7 separate regions of the Homo sapiens genome follow, and regions 1, 3, 4, 5, 6 and 7 are each linked to region 2. The links are contacts of gene promoters, found by promoter capture Hi-C in blood cells and fetal thymus (Javierre and others, 2016). All regions are on one chromosome and are shown on one strand. Each heading gives the region's core, a stretch centred on a gene start or on the middle of the fragment in contact. The rest is flanking DNA. Distances are from core to core; before and after follow the strand shown. Region 1 has its middle 100 kb from the start of YWHAZ. Region 2 holds the start of ZNF706 (zinc finger protein 706). Region 3 has its middle 5.8 kb from the start of MIR7705. Region 4 has its middle 110 kb from the start of PABPC1. Region 5 overlaps YWHAZ (tyrosine 3-monooxygenase/tryptophan 5-monooxygenase activation protein zeta). Region 6 has its middle 55 kb from the start of YWHAZ. Region 7 overlaps PABPC1 (poly(A) binding protein cytoplasmic 1).

What was found. The method cuts DNA at HindIII sites, captures the fragments that hold promoters and counts their contacts. A CHiCAGO score of 5 or more calls a contact.
Region 1: a fragment that was not itself captured here is called in contact with the fragment with the promoter of ZNF706 in region 2 in 4 of 17 cell types (megakaryocytes, endothelial precursors, M0 macrophages and 1 more); the score reaches 6.3 in megakaryocytes.
Region 3: a fragment that was not itself captured here is called in contact with the fragment with the promoter of ZNF706 in region 2 in 1 of 17 cell types (neutrophils); the score reaches 5.8 in neutrophils.
Region 4: a contact is called between a fragment that was not itself captured here and the fragment with the promoter of ZNF706 in region 2, in 2 of 17 cell types (total B cells and total CD8 T cells). The highest score is 5.9, in total B cells.
Region 5: a fragment that was not itself captured here is called in contact with the fragment with the promoter of ZNF706 in region 2 in 1 of 17 cell types (naive CD4 T cells); the score reaches 5.7 in naive CD4 T cells.
Region 6: a contact is called between a fragment that was not itself captured here and the fragment with the promoter of ZNF706 in region 2, in 3 of 17 cell types (total B cells, megakaryocytes and naive B cells). The highest score is 6.2, in total B cells.
Region 7: a contact is called between a fragment that was not itself captured here and the fragment with the promoter of ZNF706 in region 2, in 1 of 17 cell types (fetal thymus). The highest score is 5.5, in fetal thymus.

Annotation. Positions count from the first base shown.
Region 1 is chr8:100,849,498-100,852,249 of GRCh38, reverse strand. No RefSeq gene overlaps it. Among named protein-coding and RNA genes, the nearest start is that of YWHAZ, 100 kb to the left of the region's middle. RefSeq lists an enhancer at 821-1,488. The HindIII fragment of the contact is 1,911 bases long and covers 336-2,246 here.
Region 2 is chr8:101,204,299-101,207,223 of GRCh38, reverse strand. It overlaps ZNF706 (zinc finger protein 706), which reads left to right and starts at 1,551. Exons shown (of 4, transcript NM_016096.5): 1 at 1,551-1,789. RefSeq lists silencers at 987-1,206, 1,417-2,016. The HindIII fragment of the contact is 4,829 bases long and covers 1-2,925 here.
Region 3 is chr8:100,695,924-100,698,623 of GRCh38, reverse strand. No RefSeq gene overlaps it. Among named protein-coding and RNA genes, the nearest start is that of MIR7705, 5.8 kb to the left of the region's middle. The HindIII fragment of the contact is 5,621 bases long and covers 1-2,700 here.
Region 4 is chr8:100,832,374-100,835,086 of GRCh38, reverse strand. No RefSeq gene overlaps it. Among named protein-coding and RNA genes, the nearest start is that of PABPC1, 110 kb to the right of the region's middle. RefSeq lists enhancers at 2,375-2,484, 2,525-2,574. The HindIII fragment of the contact is 2,293 bases long and covers 178-2,470 here.
Region 5 is chr8:100,916,722-100,919,518 of GRCh38, reverse strand. YWHAZ (tyrosine 3-monooxygenase/tryptophan 5-monooxygenase activation protein zeta) reads left to right here. Exons shown (of 6, transcript NM_145690.3): 6 at 1-2,797. Among named protein-coding and RNA genes, the nearest start is that of YWHAZ, 34 kb to the left of the region's middle. The HindIII fragment of the contact is 6,917 bases long and covers 1-2,797 here.
Region 6 is chr8:100,895,877-100,898,576 of GRCh38, reverse strand. It overlaps the pseudogene RPS26P6. Among named protein-coding and RNA genes, the nearest start is that of YWHAZ, 55 kb to the left of the region's middle. The HindIII fragment of the contact is 4,310 bases long and covers 1-2,700 here.
Region 7 is chr8:100,713,101-100,715,881 of GRCh38, reverse strand. PABPC1 (poly(A) binding protein cytoplasmic 1) reads left to right here. Exons shown (of 15, transcript NM_002568.4): 4 at 281-420; 5 at 2,701-2,781. Among named protein-coding and RNA genes, the nearest start is that of PABPC1, 7.6 kb to the left of the region's middle. The HindIII fragment of the contact is 2,823 bases long and covers 1-2,769 here.

The DNA of each region.
Region 1 (2,752 bases), core at 42-2,541, 350 kb after region 2:
AATCTATGTTCTAGTAAATAGAGGGTCAACGTAAAGTGCACTGCTTGAAGATCTGCATTCTGCATTGCCTGGCCCCCCTGCTTTAACTTCACAGGTGCAGTTCCTGCCAGCAGAGCAGATAAGGAAGGCTCCTGGAAGCAGGGGTGGCACTGCCTCTGGCCTCCTCATGTCTCTCTGCAGGCTCTGTGCTCCTGAGAGCTGAGTCCCCCAGGCTAGGAATAGCCCTAGAGAAGCTTTTGTGTCCTGTGCCTCTCTGTACTTCTCAGTATGAGCTAATAAAATCTGCTTTGCCCCAGTACTCTTCCCTTGGTTTATGGGAGAACACACAGAAAGCTTCCCCACGTAGCCACATCGTGGAGGTCTTCCACAGTGAGCATTAATCCTGCCTCAGTCATGGGAGTCACAGAGATGGCAGGCCACCTCTCCAGTTCTTTTACCATGGAGTGGGTCAGCCATTAGAAGGGACCTGGACAGCCCACTCACCTCCCAGCATTTTGTACACACTGGCCCTCCTGCTCAGAAGCCCCTCATCCATGTCTGCTGCAGCTCTGGCTGTTCCCAAGAATGGATGTCAGTGTGGGGGCCCAGCCTCCTCAGCACCTTTCAGGAGCCAGGGACCCATGCCATTCGGGGCACACGGCACAGGGCTTTGCAGGTTCCTGGGTCTGGCCACTGGGGCTGCTGTGGGCAGTGCAGGATTTAGCAGAGAAGACTTCAGGCTGTGGCAGAGCGGCAGCTTCCCTGCACAGATCCCCAGGACTGAATACTGGCTGGCTCCAAGGGTGAAGGGAGTGTTGGAACTGCACAACCAGACCCTTGCCTGCTCCCCAGCCTGCCACCCTTGCAGGGCTCATTGCACAGGCCCCACCCTCAGAGCTTCTGATTCCAAGGATCTGGAGTGGAGCCTGAGAATGTGTATTTCTTTTTTTTTCTTTTTTCTTAAAGACAAGTTCTCACTGTCTTGCCAAGACTGGAATGCTGTGGCGTGATCATAGCTCACTGTAACCACAAATTCCTAGACTCAAGCAATCCTTCCACATCAGCATCCCAAGTAGTTGGGACTACAAGGTGTGCACCACCATGCCTGCTTTTTTTTTTTTTTTTTGTCTGTTTGTTTTTTTAGTAGAAATGAGGTCTTGGTATATTCCCCAGGCTGATCTCAAATTCCTGCACTGAAGCAATCCTCCGGCCTCAGCTTCCCAAAGTATCAGCACCTGAGGAAAATGCGCATTTCTTACAAGCTCTCCCAGGTGATGTGGCTACTGCTGCAAAAGGAGCTGCATTTTGACAGCCACTGCTTTCTGTAACACTGCCTTCTCCTCTCTGAGGCCTCTGAGGCATGACACTGTTCCAATACTGACTGCTAAATTTTTGCTGCCAGCCAGGCCATGGAGGCTATTCATTCTGCCTCTCCTAGCGCTGAGTTGGTCAGCATCAGCAAAAGCTGCCTGGAGGCCAGAAGACAGACACCCTCTGGCCCCAGCTCTCTCACTGCTGTCCTGATTCCCCACACAAAGTGTTTGCTGTGGTGCAAACTTGCTGACAGGCACCACCCTGTGTTGGGGATGAACCAAATCATTACAACCCTTAGACCCATGGATTCCTGGCTCTGAAAACAGATGCAAAAGCTCCCCTGCTCCCCTGGCCAACCCACCCCACGGACATCCTCTTGCAGGCCTGCTGTGGAAGGCCCCAAAATGGGACATGACCCGGCAGGAGGTCTGAGAATGGCTTTCCCTGCCAACTGATATCAAGACCCCTAGGGCCTGGCAGTCAAGGCATGAATAAATATATTCCACAGGAGTCCTTTCAGCCATAAAGAGCCTGTCTCCCAGCCTTGTATGCAAAACCAGAGTCGGGCCCAGTGGCTCACTTGTAATCCCAGGACTTTGGGAAGCCGAGGTGGGAGGATCACTTGAGTCCAGGAGTTTGAGACCAGCCTGGGCAACATAGCAAGACCCCTGTTTCTACAAAAAATAAAATTAGCTGGACGTAGTGGTGTACCTATAGTCCCAGCTTCTCAGCAGGCTGAGGTGGGAGGATCACTTAAGCCCAGGAGGTAGAGGCTGAAGTAAACCATGATCGCATCACTGCACTCCAGCCCAGGTGAGAGTGAGACCTTGTCTCAAAAAACAAACCAAAAGCCTGAGACAAGTGCCCTGACTGGCAAAGAGGAGACGCTTTGGCTGGGGATTCTAGAACACCAGCATTCCAGAAAATGCATAAAGGTGCCCTTTCTCAAAGCTTCCATGGACTCGTTGGCTTCCAGGTAGTCACTTTTTCTATTGTTCTATCTCCCTCCTTGGCCGCCTCTTCCCATCCTATGCACTTCAGGTGCAGAGTAATGCATTTGCATGTTCAGAGCTGCTAATGACCTCGTCGGTGTTTAAACATGGACTGTCTAGTCCACATGTCTTAACCTGGGACCTGAATCTAGATGGGGACTGAAGGGTGGGCAGGTCAGCAGGTGCTGAGGCATTCATCTGTAAAGTGCTCACAAACAGCATTAAAGTAAATTGGAAGGATGGTGTCAGCTAACTAAGGCTCCCACACAACCCTTCCAGAGTGGAAAAATCTAAATTGCTTTCACTCTCAGCCTTGAGTGAGAAAAAGAGAATACCCCTCATTGGGGCTCTTTCTGCTGAGCACTTTGCACGGGCAGCTACTTGATATTCACAGTCAATAGAATAATTCATGGGGTTGTACTGACTACCAGAAAAGAGTCAGTTATTTACCTAACTTTTAAATGGGT
Region 2 (2,925 bases), core at 302-2,801:
AGGATGAAGAGGGAGAACTGAACACCCGGATCACTGCATGCCATGTTTCATTTCGTATTTTTCTCCACTCAAATGCAATAGGCAGCTAACTCCTTCCTGGCTAGTTTAAACAATTCTGTGGTATCTATAGCCCAGTCCAAGTCATTTGGGATATACTAATATTCAGCCAACATTTCCTGGGCACTGCCACGCAAACTTGGGAAACGGCACTACAGGCAAGGTGAGAACAGCCAATGCAAACACTTTTTTTTTTTCTCCTTTGTCACTAGTAGTTCTAATTAGAAACGAATGTGGCGGGGGTCGGGGGTAAGTATGCACAATAAAGCTGATGTCTAAAGTACTGTTTCCAGATATTCAGCAATTTTAATCATGGTTATAATCGCCATTGCTCTTGTCAGATATTGAAAGTTTGCTGCCACTGCCTGTAAATGGAGAGAGAGCGCGCGCAAAGAACTTTAACCATTCCCCGAAGGATTAGCAACTCAGTACCGTATATTGTTAGCAGTCAAACTAAACCCCTCCGGGAAGCCTGGCCAGCAATTTTTTTTTCTTTTTTTGTTTTTTTTTTTTTTTAGGCAGGGTCTCACTCAGTCGCCCAGGATGGAGTGCAATGGCGCGATCTCGGCTTACCGCAACCTTCACCTCCCGGCCTCAAGCGATTCTCCCACCTCAGCCTCCCGAGTAGCTGGGACTACAGGCGCGGGCCACCATGCTCCACTATTTATTTTATTTTATTTTATTTTTGTGGAGACGTGGGTCTCGCTATGTACTCAGGCTGGTCTGGAACTCCTGGGCTCAAGTGATCCTCCTGCCTTGGGCTCCCAAAGCGCTGAGATTACAGGCGTGAGCCACCGCGCCCGGCCTAGCCAGCAATTTTTAATACGACTTAGGCTTGAATCTTGAACTCACTAAAAGCCCCCAGCTTGGGAAAACACCTGGGGTTTCCATGGGAGTGAGGTAAAGGGCGGCTGTGAAAGAACAAAGGCTGTGCGTCCGCGTTCAGAGCCGCTGGGTCCGCCGGGCTCGCTGGGGGCCGGGGCCGCGGTGTCCTGGGTGGCGGGGCTCCGGGAATGTGACTCAGCCACCGCGGCCCCGCGATCCGCTCCCGGGCCAGCGCCTCAGTCGGTGCCGAGGAGGGCGGCGCCGAGACGGGCGCGTCAGCCTGGGAGGAGCGGGAAAAGGGTCGCAGCGCCTGAGGCCCGGCCGCCGCCCGAGTGGATGAGCGAGCGAGCGACTTGTGAAACACGCCGCGGCCCGGTCACCAACCAGGACCGGGATCACGTGGCTCCCAGGGCTGGGTGAAGAAGCCGCCCGGACCGAGCGCGCCGGAGAGGAGGGGCGCCTGGGGACAGAAGGCGACGTCCCCTGAAGTTTGTGTCAGCCAGGGCCCGCCCCCTCGCGCTTATGTAATAGGGGCGCGCTGCCATTGGCCCGCGCGACCAGCCAGGGCGCAGGCGTGCGAGCGGGGTGGGGGCCAGAAGGAGGCAGCCGCAGAAAGGCACATGGGCGGGGCTGCGAGGAGCAGGCGGGGCGGGGGCGCCGAGGAGAGCGGCGCGGCGTGCGCGGGCACGAGGCGTAGTGGTCTCCCCTAAGGCTGAGGCGGCGGCGGGCGCGCGGCGGCGGCGGGCGTGCGAGGCTGTTGTGCTCCCGGCTCTCGTGTTTCCCCTCCTGAGCGGGTGGAGGAGGCCCAAGCGGTGCTGGGCGCGCTCCCCCTTCCTTTCCCTCCGGCGTCCTCTCCCGGCCCTCTCGCGCTGCACTGTCTCTCCGACGCAAGACTGTCCCGGCCCGGGTGAGCGGCAGCGGGGGCGGTGCTGACGCCGCGGGACGCCCGGGAAACGGGGCGGGGGCCGGCCAGCGGGGGGCGGTGGGGACCGTGGGACTCGCCGCGGGTCGCGAGGGGTCGCGGGGGGCGGCAGGGCCCGGCCCGGGGCGGGCCGCGGGAAGGGGATGAGTTCGGGCGCCTGCCAGGCCCTGCAGGTGGCCGGGTCGCAGGCCAGCCGCGGAAGCGGAGCGGTAACCTTACCCCCGGCGACAGCCGCCGGTCAGCTGCCAGAGTGTGGCGCTCCCGGTGGACGCAGGGGCCGGGTTTCGGGCAGTCTCGGCCTCCAGGAGGCGCGTCTTGGTCCAGGGTCCGTGAGGACTGGCTAGATGGGGGCTGCGTGGCCTTTGGTGGCAGGGAGGAGGAGGGGGTCTCCGAGGCGGGAGAGGCGGGTTTGGGAAGGAAGGTGCGCCAGGCTGAAGCTGGGGTCGGAGAAGTGTTGGGTGGAGACCTCACTGTGGGTGCGTTCCTCCTCTCCTCTCCCCAAAACGATGGTGTTAAAAGCTAGGGTCAGGATGTGGAGCGCTGCCTGGGCCTCTTCCTTTCCGATGGTTATGGAGAATGAGCCTACTTCCTGGACCCAAAATCCTTTTCTTCTGTTACTCATTTATGTTGGTTTTAAAAGGAGCTTTGGGGCAGAGCTTACTTGTTGCCTCCTACGAGAGCGCCTCATTTTAGAACTCGTTTCTTCCACTACTTCCCTCTTTGCAGCCCCCTCGGAAAACCACACTGAGAGTTGCATTAAAAACCAGCATGTAGGTATTTGTAAGTGACTTTTTCCCTCCAGTTTGTCGCATTTAATCAAGGAGCGGTTGTAGCTGCCTACGATTTTGTAGAAAATTGTGTTGGCTTGAGAGCAAGTCCTAAGTTGAGCTGTCCAAAAGCAGGTGGTTGGTTCGTTTGAATTTCTGCTTTCAGAAAGGAAATCGATGGGGCGTGTTGTCAGAAGTTAGGGGCCTACCTCATGCATTTAGCTTATTTTATTCCATTTCCTTTACCTGGTGTTAAGTTTTCTGTCTTCAGAATAAGAACAAGTGACTACTGTCTTTATTAAGTCTCTTCGGTCTTTTTGGTTGCTGTTTGGTGACAATGGAAAATGGGTTGAA
Region 3 (2,700 bases), core at 162-2,661, 510 kb after region 2:
TGTAACACTCAGATCACTTTGATACATCTCCTGTTGCTGTATCTTCTCTACCACCTAGTTTCACATGCTAGGGAGATACATGGCAGAATTGCAGGGTAACCTAATTTTTATTTATTTTTTATTATTATTATTTTTTTGAGATGGAGTCTCGCTGTGTCACCCAGGTTGGAGTGCAGTAGTGCAATCTCGGCTCACTGCAGCCTCCACCTCCCAGATTTAAGCAATTCTCTTGCCTTAGCATCCCGAGTAGCTGGGACTGCAGGCACGTGCCACCACACCCAGCTGATTTTTGTATTTTTAGTAGATACGGGTTTCGCCGCGTTGGCCAGGCTGGTCTGGAACTCCTGACTTCAGGTGATCCACCCGCCTCGGCCTCCCAAAGTACTGTGATCACAGGCATGAGCCACCGCGCCCAGCCAGGATAACCTAATTTTTAAATTTTAGATAGTATTCGTTTATTTGACCCTCACAATCATGGCAAGTTTGCAAAATATTGTATTATCTAAAAAGGTAGAAAAACATGCAATTTATTTACTTTGTTACTGACAATATCCCCAGAAAAGGAAACAACATGGGCTTTTGATTAGCTCTGATGTTTTTTCTGCAGAGAAAAAGCTCTACATGTTGGAACATTTGTCCTTTTCAGAAAGTTCCCACAAGATACATGATCATTGATAAGGCATACGTGAACAGATGGATTTATGATTGGTGATGGGTTTTTGTTTCTATACCCCACCCCAAGTAAAAAAAAAATGTGTGGTACATGGAATATTTTTTATTATGCTTATTTCGTATTGCCAGGTAGATGGCCAGCCTGACATTCAAAATTATTTTATCAGCCCCTAAATGTTAATATTTCCCAAACTATTTAAATCAGTAGAAGACATTTTTACTATTAAGAATAAAAAGTTATAATATAAAATGGATTAAATGCCAGATTATATGCTAAACAAGTCCTTTAAATTTTTAACTTAATATTTTTAACAGATTTTTTTTTTGAGATGCAGTTTTACTCTTGTTGCCCAGGCTGGAGTGCAATGGCACAATCTTGGCTCACTGCAACCACCACCTCCCGGGTTCATGCGATTCTCCTGCCTCAGCCTTCTGAGTAGCTGGGATTACAGGCATGTGCCACCACATGCAGCTAATTTTGTACTTTTAGTAGAGACGGGGTTTCTCTATGTTGGTCAGGCTGGTCTTGAGGTCGGGAGCTCAGGTGATCTACCTGCCTCAGCCTCCCAAAGTGCTGGGATTACAGGCGTGAGCACTGCGCCCGGCTTTAACAGATATTTTTATAAGCAAATCATTTATAAGTATGGGTGACTATTCTTTACAAATCCATTTGTGATGCAGTGGTAATTTGGTGGCACTGCAATTATGGCCAGCAATGAAGATTATAAAATAATTGCCTGAGGAACCAAGCTCATGTGCACTAAAAAGAAGCAGGGATTCTTAGAAGATTCTTAGAAGTATAGAGTAGTGATTTTTTTGGGGATGGAGTCTTGCTCTGTCGCCCAGGTTAGAGTGCAGTGGTGCGATATCCGCTCACTACAACCTCCGTCTCCTGGGTTCAAATGATTTTCCTGCCTCACCTCCCAAGTGGTTGGGACTACAGGCGCCTGCCACCATGCCCGGCTAATTTTTGTATTTTTAGTAGAGACGGTTTCACCATGTTGCCTAGGGTAGTCTCAAACTCCTGAGCTCAGGCAGTCATCCTGCCTAGGCCTCCCAAAGCGCTAGGATTACAGGTGTGAGTCACTGTGCCCGGCCGATATGCCTGTTTTTTAATCAACCAATTTTTAAAAAATTTACCAGAGCCAACTCGGAATTAACATTTGTAACTGCTAATATTGAGTATATGTATGTGTTTACTTAACAAGTAAACTCTTTACTTGCACTATATCATTTAATTCTTAAAACCACCCTATGAAATTGGTTCAGTAATATATTCCCATTTTACAGATGAGGGAACTGAAGCATCAAACTGAACCGCGACTTGTCCAAAGTCACATAGTAAGTGGAGGTGGAACTGGGCTTTAAATCCAAGCCTACATACAGACTAGAGTTCACACTTTTAGGCTTGGCATAAACTGCCTATAAACTATAAAAAAGTAAAACTCCATAAAATCTCAGGTACTTGGACTACCTTCAGTCTGAGAGGTGGGGGATGGGGAGACAGCAAATTTTTATGTTTATTAAAGCATGAAATATAAAGCAAAAACAAAGTTCCTTTTTCTTTTTTTTAATTTAAATTTGTATTTTTTACGGAATCTCACTGTCACCCAGGCTGGAGTGCAGTGGTGCGATCTCAGCTCACTGCAGCCTCCACCTCCCGGGTTGAAGCATGTCTCCTGCCCCAGCCTCCCAAGTAGCTGGGACTACAGGCGCATGTCACCATGCCTAGCTAATTTTTGTATTTTTAATAGAGATGGGGTTTCACCATGTTGCTCAGGCGAATCTCGAACTCCTGACCTCAAGTGATCCGCCTGCCTCGGCTTCCTAATGTGCAAAGATGCTTTTTTGTTGTCACATTTTAAGACAGCCAAAAAGAATGAGAAAGTCATTGTTTAGAAGAAAAGGAATCCTAGTGACGAGTTGTCTTGAAAGAGAAGAAAAAAAGTTAAAAAACAGAAGAAAAAGGAGATCTTTAACCGTGCTGGGTATAAAATTCTAAGTCAGGATACTTTTCTTCCTTTGAGC
Region 4 (2,713 bases), core at 75-2,574, 370 kb after region 2:
TCTTTAACAAAGAACAGTACACTTTTAGAGAAGTGACAGGACAAAGGAAATGGATTTTGAGTTTCTACAGGCAGCAACTTGAGGAAAGGCAAAGAACTGGCAGATAAAGGCTGGTTAGTAAAGCTTGTTCATATGCATTCCTCTGGCTTCATCTCCAGGCCGAGACAGTTTAAAGCTTTCTTCAGTGGTAACCTTTATTTTTATTTATTTGTTTTATTTATTTATTTATTTATTTATTTATTTTTGAGATGGAGTCTCGCTCAGTAGCCCAGGCTGGAGTGCAGTGGTGCAATCTCGGCTCACTGCAAACTCCGCCTCCCGGTTCAAGTGATTCTCCTGCCTCAGCCTCCCAAGTAGCTGGGATTACAGGCGTCCACCACCACACCCGGCTAATTTTTGTGATTTTAGTAGAGACGAGATTTCACTATATTGGCCAGGCTGGTTTTGAACTCCTGACTTCAAGTGATCTGCCCACCTTGGCCTCCCAACGTGCTAGGATTACAGGCGTGAGCCACTGCCCCCAGCCCCCTTATTTATTTATTTTTATTTTTTTGAGATGGAGTCTCGCTCTGTCACCCAGGCTGGAGTGCAAGTGGAGTGCAGTGGCACGATCTTGGCTCACTACAACCTCTGCCTCCTGGGCTCAAGCAATTCTCCTGCCTCAGCCTCCCAAGTGGCTGGGACTGCAGGGGCCCGCCACCATGCTGGGCTAATTTGTGTGTGTGTGTATATTTTTAGTAGAAACAGGGTTTCACCAAGTTGACCAGGCTGATCTCAAATTCCTGACCTCAGGTGATCCACCAGCCTCAGCCTCCCAAAGTGCTGTGATTCCAGGCATGAGCCACCACATCTGGCCCACTGGTAACCTTCAGAGAGCAAGGAAGGATACTGTGACGGTTAATATTAGGTGCCAACTTGACTGGATTGGGGAATGCTAGGTGGCTGGTATCGTTTCTGGTGTGTCTGTGAGGGTGCTGGGGAGATTGACATGTGAGTCAGTGGACTGGGAGAGGAAGACTCACCCTCAGTGTGGGTGGACACCATCCAATGGCAGCCAGCACAGCCAGAACAAAGCAGGTGAAGAAGGTGGGGTAACTTTGCTTGCTGAGTCCTCTGGCTCTCTTTCTTCTTCCCACGTTGGGTGCTTGCCTCTGCTCCTCCTGCCCTTGGATATCAGACGCCAGATTCTTTGGCCTTTGGACTCTGGGACTTGCACCAGCAGCTTCCCAGGGTCTCCCGGACCTTCAACCGCAGACTGAAGGCTGCACTGTTGGCTTCCCTGGTTCTGAGGCTTTCGGACTTGGACTGAGCCACTACCAGCTTTTCCTTCTCCCCAGCTTGCAAACGGCCTCTTGTAGGACTTTGCCTTGTAATTGTGTGAGCCAATCCTCCCTAGTAAACTCTCTTTTATATACACATATATCCTATTAGTTCTGTCCTCCTGGAGAACCCTGACTCATACAGATGCCCTTTTTCTTTATAGATCTATATTCTTCTTTTAGGCAAATAGAGGAGAATGCAGGGGCAGAAAAGGTGTGATCCCTTTCCTCACCCATCATAAGGGTCATGGCCGACAACTCCTATAACAAAGACAGGTTCACAGGAGAAAAACATAACACAACTTATTTAATCAAAGTTTTACATGACACGGCAAACTTCAGAAATAAAGTCCTAAAGACCCAGGGAAAATTGTCTATTTTTATGCTTAAGTCAAATAAAAAATGGGCAGGCATGTAGAAATGTGACTGGACAACAACAATATGATCCAATGATAATGGATTGAGTGGGGAGACCCGGCAAAGCCTGTATGTTCAGATTCTTCTTGGCTTCTCTGTGCAGCATTCCTTGCTCGGGGGATAGCGCAGGACCCCTCTGGAATGGGAGTCTTATGACCAACTATTTGGCAAGGCAGGCCGGAGAATGTCTTTATGGCCAGCTTCTACACAGAAAGATGGGGAAGATGAGAATGATATGTCTCATTTTAAGGCTTGCTTTGGAGAAGAGGGGATCAGTTTCTAATAACCAGCCTTGGGGAAGTGGAATTCTGGTGTCCATGACTTGCTTTGGGGGAAAAAAGAGGCAGGAGAGATAGAACAGAAAAGATCAGAGAGAACTTGCTTCTGGAGCCTTCCAGTCTCCTTGAGATCAAAGTGCTCAACCCGCCAAAGTGCCGTACTGCAGGGCATTGTTTTCCAAGCCCCAACAGAGGGCAGAGCGCTCTGGTGCGTTTGTTTCTTCTTAAGTGTCTTCAGCTTGATAATCCCTTGTACTTTGGGGAGGGGTACTCTGGTCTCCCACACTTGCCCACCTCTAGGCATTCTTTACAGTTCTCTTTCCCCCTTGATAGATAATCCTATACTGTAGTGAATAACTCTTTATATTAAACTTTCTATGTACCAATTACTCTGTGGTTTCTAACTCCTGATTAGACTTGACCAATACAACACTGAATATGTGTCTAACCAAAGCTTATGTAATTGTTTCAGGAAGACAGGAAGTCAGAAAGTGTGAATGTGTGTATGTGAGAGAGAGAGAGCAATAAAGAGAGCGAGAGAGAGAGCGAGAGTGAAAGTAAAGGCCTTATTTTCCATCGCAAGAAGTTGACAACATACACCTGAAACTGAAAATTTATAGAATATAGTATAAAATTATCTAGAGATTTGAAAGTGGTTCTGTTTAGAGATCAGGAAATGGAGTGAGAGAGATCTGCTAA
Region 5 (2,797 bases), core at 140-2,639, 290 kb after region 2:
TCCATGTCCCATGATCCCCTCTCTTCCTCCCCACCCTGAAAAAAATGAGTTCCTATTTTTTCTGGGAGAGGGGGGGATTGATTAGAAAAAAATGTAGTGTGTTCCATTTAAAATTTTGGCATATGGCATTTTCTAACTTAGGAAGCCACAATGTTCTTGGCCCATCATGACATTGGGTAGCATTAACTGTAAGTTTTGTGCTTCCAAATCACTTTTTGGTTTTTAAGAATTTCTTGATACTCTTATAGCCTGCCTTCAATTTTGATCCTTTATTCTTTCTATTTGTCAGGTGCACAAGATTACCTTCCTGTTTTAGCCTTCTGTCTTGTCACCAACCATTCTTACTTGGTGGCCATGTACTTGGAAAAAGGCCGCATGATCTTTCTGGCTCCACTCAGTGTCTAAGGCACCCTGCTTCCTTTGCTTGCATCCCACAGACTATTTCCCTCATCCTATTTACTGCAGCAAATCTCTCCTTAGTTGATGAGACTGTGTTTATCTCCCTTTAAAACCCTACCTATCCTGAATGGTCTGTCATTGTCTGCCTTTAAAATCCTTCCTCTTTCTTCCTCCTCTATTCTCTAAATAATGATGGGGCTAAGTTATACCCAAAGCTCACTTTACAAAATATTTCCTCAGTACTTTGCAGAAAACACCAAACAAAAATGCCATTTTAAAAAAGGTGTATTTTTTCTTTTAGAATGTAAGCTCCTCAAGAGCAGGGACAATGTTTTCTGTATGTTCTATTGTGCCTAGTACACTGTAAATGCTCAATAAATATTGATGATGGGAGGCAGTGAGTCTTGATGATAAGGGTGAGAAACTGAAATCCCAAACACTGTTTTGTTGCTTGTTTTATTATGACCTCAGATTAAATTGGGAAATATTGGCCCTTTTGAATAATTGTCCCAAATATTACATTCAAATAAAAGTGCAATGGAGACCTTGGGGTCTTTATTTCCAGGAGAAAAGATACCTTCTGCATCTAGGGCAACAATCCTTTTCCCTCGCAGCTCTTTCTTTTACCTCACTTACTGATTTCTCCTGACCCCCAAGCCAAGGAGGTAAAATAATTATATATATATATATATATATATATATATATATATAAAGTAATTATATTTTATAGCTAGACTGAAGAGGTGGGAATTTTTTTGTTGTTTTTTTTTTTTTTGGAGACAAGAGTCTTGCTCTGTCACCCAGGCTTGAGTGCAGTGGTGCGATCTCGGCTGAGTGCAACCTCCGCCTGCTGGGTTCAAGCGATTCTCCTGCCTCAGCCTCCCAAGTAGCTGGGATTACAGGTGCCCGCCACCACACCTGGCTAATTTTTGTGTTTTTAGTAGAGACAGGGTTTCACCATGTTGTCCAGGCTGGTCTTGAATTCCCGACCTCAGGCAATCCGCCCATCTCAACCTCCCAAAGTGCTGGGATTACAGGCATAAGCCACCGCGCCCAGTAGAGATGTGATATTATTCAAGTAAATAAAACCTGAAACTTGGCACATTTGCCTATTTAATGTGCATCAGTCATCTGAACTAGGTTGATCCTGGAATAATGAAAACACTTCACTAGTATTAACTAATGTTTTCTACATAGTAGTTCCCAATAGATTAAGGAAAATTTCCAACCTGAGATTCTTTGTTTTGGAATTTGAATAATGTGTTTGTAACTATTCCTTGATTGTCCCAAATCCAGGCTTTACGTCTGCTTTTGTCAATGTAACATCCTAGTGCCAGGAAATTGGAAAATCCAATGACTTTTTGTGTGTAAAGTACTGGAATTTTTTTGTTCGTTTGTTTTTAAGACGGAGTGTCAACTCTCGCCCAGGCTGGGGTGCAGTGGCCTGATCTCGGCTCACTGCAACCTTCTCCTCCCAGGCTGAAGTGATTCTCCTGCCTCAGCCTCGCAAGTAGCTGGGACTGCAGGCATGTGCCACCACTCCTGGCTAATTATTTGTATTTTTAGTAGAGAGAGGGTTTCACCGTGTTAGCCATGATGGTCTCATTCTCCTGACCTTGTGATCCGCCCACCTCGGCCTCCCAAAGTGCTGGGATTACAGGCGTGAGCCACTGTGCCCACCCTGGTATGTTTTTTTTAAATTGGCCACTTAAGAGTTGTCCTTCAGAAAGTGGAGCAGCAGTGTGATTAGTAAAAACGATGGGCTTTCCTGCAGCTCTGGCTTATGGTCTTTGTTTTTCCAGTTAACAGCTGTTACTTCATGCTGTTATAGGGGGTGGGGGGAGAAAGAGAAAGAATATGTCTAGTGGCTTAATTTTGGGGCTCAATTTGTTTATTATGTTTTTCCTGCAAAAGAGTCACCAGTCTTGTCATGGCTCAATGCATATTTTAAAATGAGTCAAAGCCAATTTGGAAGCTGCTATCTTAGGTTATTTGTAGTCAGGCTTCAAATGGAGAGTGAAACTTTGACTTTGAAAACTGGTGCTCTATGCTCAATGATGGTCTTACACATTCCTCTAGGGAAAGGTCAAGAAATAAATTTGGCTTGATTGTATTCTCTCATTTACCATATAGGAAATACTATGGTAGAACTGAAAATATGTACAATAGTAAAGTGGTGGCTGAGACTGGGCACTTGGAAAATAGACTTGGATTCTTTTCTAAGTGTGAAACTAATTAAATACTTTTATGTGACTGGTAGTAGTCACAGTCTCCTTGATTGATTCTAGTTCCTTTTCAAAGTGGAGAGACCTGAATATAGATTGTAACAGGATGTCCAACCTTGCCAGACAAGCAGGCATATATGTCTCTGGGATGCAGAAGCAGTTACAAGTTAATA
Region 6 (2,700 bases), core at 137-2,636, 310 kb after region 2:
CCAGGACAAGGTCTTGAAGGACATGGTCTCTCTAGGAACTAGGGCAGCACTGCCAGCTCTTAGCTTCGCATCAGCAGGTGTCTCCCTGGCTGTTCTTCCGGGCCTGTACCTCTCACAGAACCATTGAGTCAGGCCTCTGAGCTCAATTCAGACTCAGCCATTCCATTCTCTTCTTCCTCAAAGCATTTCCCATCATGTGTCATCGCCACCAAGAATGCTACAAGCAACAAGCAAGGTCTAGAAGCAAACATCATTCCTTCTCTGCTTATACTAGCCACATTTTCCCCTAAAGCACTAATGTGTGGGATGTTTTTTTCCTCAAAATGTTACCCTTTAATCAGTATGCTCCTAATAAGAGAACAATTCTTTACAGAATTTTAAGTAGAATCCCCAAATTCTAAGCGTTCACATTTGGATTTTTTTCTATGTATGAGATATAGGCCGGGCACAGTGGCTCATGCCTGTAATCCCACCACCTTGGGAGGCTGAGGCAGGAGATTCACTTGAGCCCAGGAGTTCAAGACTAGCCTTGGCAACATAATGAGACACTGTCTCTACAAAAAATTCAAAAATGAGCTGGGCATGGTGATGTGTGCCTGTAGTCCCAGCTACTCAAGAGGCTGAGGTGGTCGGAAGATCACTTGAGCCGGGAGGTTGAGGCTTCAGTGAGCTGTGATCACGCCACTGCACTCTAGCCTGGGCAACAAAGAGAGACCTTGTCTCAAAAAAAGGGGGAGATCTAGAATACTAGAAACATATATATTAAACAAATATTCTGGGTACAATCCAGTAATTAATATGTTGAAAATCATCTTAGCATTTTGGAAAACCCAGAAAGCTACCAGGTTTAACAAAAAGAATGGCTCATCCTATCATTCTGCACTCAGACCTCCACGACAGCTCCAGCATGCAGCATTTTTGACAAATGCAAACTGCTTCTTGAAGCTCCCATATAAGGGGGAAGAAATCTTCAAATTATAATCAAATTACAATAAATACTGTTTTATGCGCCACAAAAGTCACTATCTTTATTTTTTAATTGAGGTGAAATTCATACAACATGAAAATTCAACATTTTAAAGTGAACAATTCAAGACATTTAATACATTCACAATTTATGCAACCACCACCTCTATCTCATTTCAAAATAATTTCATTACCCCAAAAGGAAACCCCAAACCCATTAAGCAGCCACTTCCTATTATCCCCTGGGACCATTGCTTGTCCCCCCAACCCCAGGCAGCAACCCATCTGTGTCCTACCTCTTGGATTTACCTATTCTGAATTATTTTTTAAACATTTAAAAAAATTGTAATAAGAATCATATGTCATAAAATTTACTATCTTAACCATTTTAAGTGTACAGTTCAGTATTGTGTTCACATTGTTGTGAAACAGATCTCCAGAACTTCATCTTGCAGAATTGAAACTCTGTACCCATTAAACAACTCCCCTTCCTCCGCCTCTCAGCCCCCAGTGACCAGCATTCTACATACTTTCTATGTCTACGAATGTGACTACTTTAGATGCCTCATATTAGTGAAATGCTACAGTCTTTGTCCTTTCCTATTCTGGATATTTGACATAAATGGAATCATACAATATGTGATCTTTTTGACTGTCTTCTTTCACCTAGCATAATGTTGTCAAGGTTCATCCATGTTGTGGCATGTATCAGTACTTCATTCCTTTTTGTTGCCAAATAATATTCCATTTTATGGATGTACCAGTTTATCCATTCATCCGTGGATGGACATTTGGGTTGTTTCCAATCTTTGGCTATTATAAATAATGCTGCTATGAACATTTGTGCCTGAGGTTCTGTGTGGATAGATGTTTTCATTTCTCTTGGGTATATACTTAGGAGTAAAATTACCGGGTCATATGGTAACTCCATGTTACCATGAGTTACTGCTAGATTGTTTTCCAAATCAGCTGCATCCTTTGACATTCCCGCTATTAGTGAGTGAGGGTTTAAATTTCTCCACATCCTCACCAACACTTGTAATTACTTGTATTTTTCATTACAGCCTTCCTAAGTGGGCGTGAAGTGATATTTCATTGGGGTTTTGACTTGCATTTTCCTCATGGCTTATTGGTACTACAAATGTTTTGGTTAATGAAAGAAGAATGAATTAATGAATTCCATGAAAGCAACAAGAAAGCAGAGGGAACTCTTGGCCCAGTCTTTGCCATCTTTTCTTTAGTGTCTGACTGAATGACTTTCCTCAGCTCCTGGCCCACCAAGGTCTCTGGTGGCTCATTCAGCCATTAGAAACCAAGCAGATCACAATGCCCATCCAACCAATGCATCAAAAGGTCAGTCCAAGAGACTCAGGCCTGCAGGAATGTAGAAACAAAGGAGGGGACATTCTTTTTTTTTTTTTTTTTAAGTACAATTTCCATTTTATTTTTCTCCAGAGAACAGCCTGTCTTCAGTCTTTAAGAACTCAGCTCCTCACATGGGCTTTGGTGGGGGACGTGGGGCAGCACCCGCAGGTCTAAATCGGGGTGGGGGTGTTCGGTCCTTGCGGGCTTCACGAGATCGATTCCTGACTACTTTGCTGTGAATTGCACAACTCACACAGTAATGTAGCTTCACATACAGCTTGGGAAGCACATAGGCATCGAAGACGCTCACTTCAGAAATGTCCCTGACTGCTGCGGCCTCCACTATGTTTCGAATGACGAATTTCTTAA
Region 7 (2,781 bases), core at 109-2,608, 490 kb after region 2:
TTTGTATTGATGGGAGTGATCCCTTTAACCCTAGGTTAGCTAGAGAAGAGAAGTGTGTATTAAAAGAAGTGGTTTTTTTTTTGTGATTGTAGTTAGAGGCTTATTCATATATTTCATGGTGTCATATCTTAAATTATGGCCCTATTTCTATTTTGTAGTGTGCTTTTTATTAGGGATTCTGAATATTCTCATTAACAGTAACAAAACCAACCATCAGGCTTACTTAATCTGAACTTTATAAAATAGAATCTAATGTTATAGTCCTTGTATATCTTATTAGATTTGTTGGACGATTTAAGTCTCGTAAAGAACGAGAAGCTGAACTTGGAGCTAGGGCAAAAGAATTCACCAATGTTTACATCAAGAATTTTGGAGAAGACATGGATGATGAGCGCCTTAAGGATCTCTTTGGCAAGTTTGGTAATGTGTCTTAATTAAATTTTTACACACAAAGCTCTGAATTAGTGCTCAGTGTTAATTTTAGCTATTACTTTATACTAAAAAAGTCAATAAAATTAGACTTACATGGTACTTTAAAATATTTGTGGTTATTTGAATTAAGCTGCTGGCCATCTATTACACTACAAAGTAGTATAATGCAAATAAATAGAATTCTATCCAGGTTAAAGGTTAATAGCATTAGATTAGCACAGTAAGGTATGACTAAGTAATTAGAACAGATTTTAAAATATTTTACTACATTAAGAGGCTGGAGATATATATGTGTGTGTGTGTGTGTGTGTGTGTGTGTGTGTGTGTAATTAGAGATCCCATGTCATCAGAAGCATATATTTGACACAGCCAGCCTACAGTGGAATGCAGTCTCATAGAACAATAAAGCTGGTCAGTCTAAGTAACATCATGTTTGAGCAGTTTAAAACAATGACTTTCAGCGATGAAACCAAAAATTCAGATTTTCCAGTGATTCAAAGTACTTATTTCCTGCATTTAAAAATAACTTCATAAAACTTGAAATTGATGAAGCACAAACCAGCCTTAGTTTAGGTAGGGGTATAACAGATAAAATAACTTTTAAGTGTTCATGTGCAGATGATTTGCTTGACCCCACCCTTTGCATTTTGTGTTGAACTTAGAGGTGTCTTGCTTTTTTTAATATGTCAAATAATAAAGAATTAGGAAATCTAATACTTTTTTTTTTGACTCTTGCTCTGTCACCCGGGCTGGAGTGCAGTCACGTGATCTCGGCTCATTGTAGCCTCCGCCTCCCGGGTTCAAGCAGTTCTCCTATCTCTACCTTGAGTAGCTGGGATTACAGGTGTGCGCCACCATGCCCAGCTAATTTTTGTATTTTTATTAGAGACGGGGTTTCACCGTGATGGCCAGGCTGGTCTCCAACTCCTGACCTCAAGTGATCCAGCCACCTCGGCCTCCCAAAGTGCTGGGATTACAGGTGTGAGCCACTGTGCCTGGCCAGGAAATCTAATATCTTACTGCCATGCTAGCATGTCACATCAAGCCCTCCACTAGAGCAAAAAAGTACCATTTTGCACAAAGATAGATGATATAAAACATAGAAAGTGACATCATGTTTACATCTCAACCCCCAAATTTAGCTACTGCCTTTTATATATTTCAACTGTCATGCTTCTTAATGTCTTATAATTAGAAGCTGTTTGTAAAAGTTGATGTTAACTACCTACCGTATGAGTAATGCTGCATAAGTTGACCACAAATATGTGAATATGTCATATTTTCTTGACTTTGGCCTCAGGAGAGAGGCACATTCAGAAGAAAATCTGCCTTGGCCCATACATCTTCTAAATTTCTGTAATCAAATGTGATTTTTAACCTTTTCTGCCCCACTTGCCTGAGATACCACCCGCCTCAGTTACCTGTCTCTCCTACTTTAGAGGGAGTTAGGGGAAAACATGTCTTCAGAAATAAATGCTTCCTCTTCCAGGTAGTTCACCTGTGTCTTTAAAAAGAATTTTTTTTCCCTGTCTTTCAAATTCCTGTATTACCTATGTCTTACCAAAGAGTCCAACTATGTATTCCTTCCACTCCTGTTGAAAGTCGGGTAGGCCAAGGCTTAATAAATACTTGTTTCTTAATTGATACAAAGAAAATCAAATTGGTCTTAGCACAATAGCTCATGCCTGTAACCCTAGCGCTTGGGGAGGTCAAAGAGGGAAGATACTTGAAGCCACAAGTTTTAGACTAGCCCGGGCAACATAGCAAGACCCTATCTCTACAAAAAATAAATTAGCCAGGCATGGTGGTATGTGGGCCAGTAGTCCCAGATACTTGGTAAGTTGAGGCAGGAGGATCACTTGAGCCCAGGAGTTGAGTTAAAGTGAGCTTATTCATTGTGCTGCTACACTTCAGCCTGGGCAATGGAATGATATACTGTCTCTATAGAAAAGGGAAAAAATCAAATTATTGGGTAAAAAATGCAACTCTTTTGTGCTAGAGCTGAGAATAAAACTTTTTACAGCCGTTTAAAGTGTACCTCCTTAAATGGAAGGAGGAATCCTTCAGGGGAGGGAAGGTGTTTACCTTCTTAATAATAAAAGGTCTTTCAATGGAAAAGTATACCTACCTGGGGCATAGAAGGCTGGGAGGGAGGAGTCAAGTTACGGAGCTTTGAAATTTTTTTCATGGCTTTGTATGTTGAAATTTGAAATGTATAACGTGAATGTTGTATGGAATATCTTTGATTTATGTAAAAAAATTTTTTAGGGCCTGCCTTAAGTGTGAAAGTAATGACTGATGAAAGTGGAAAATCCAAAGGATTTGGATTTGTAAGCTTTGAAAGGCATG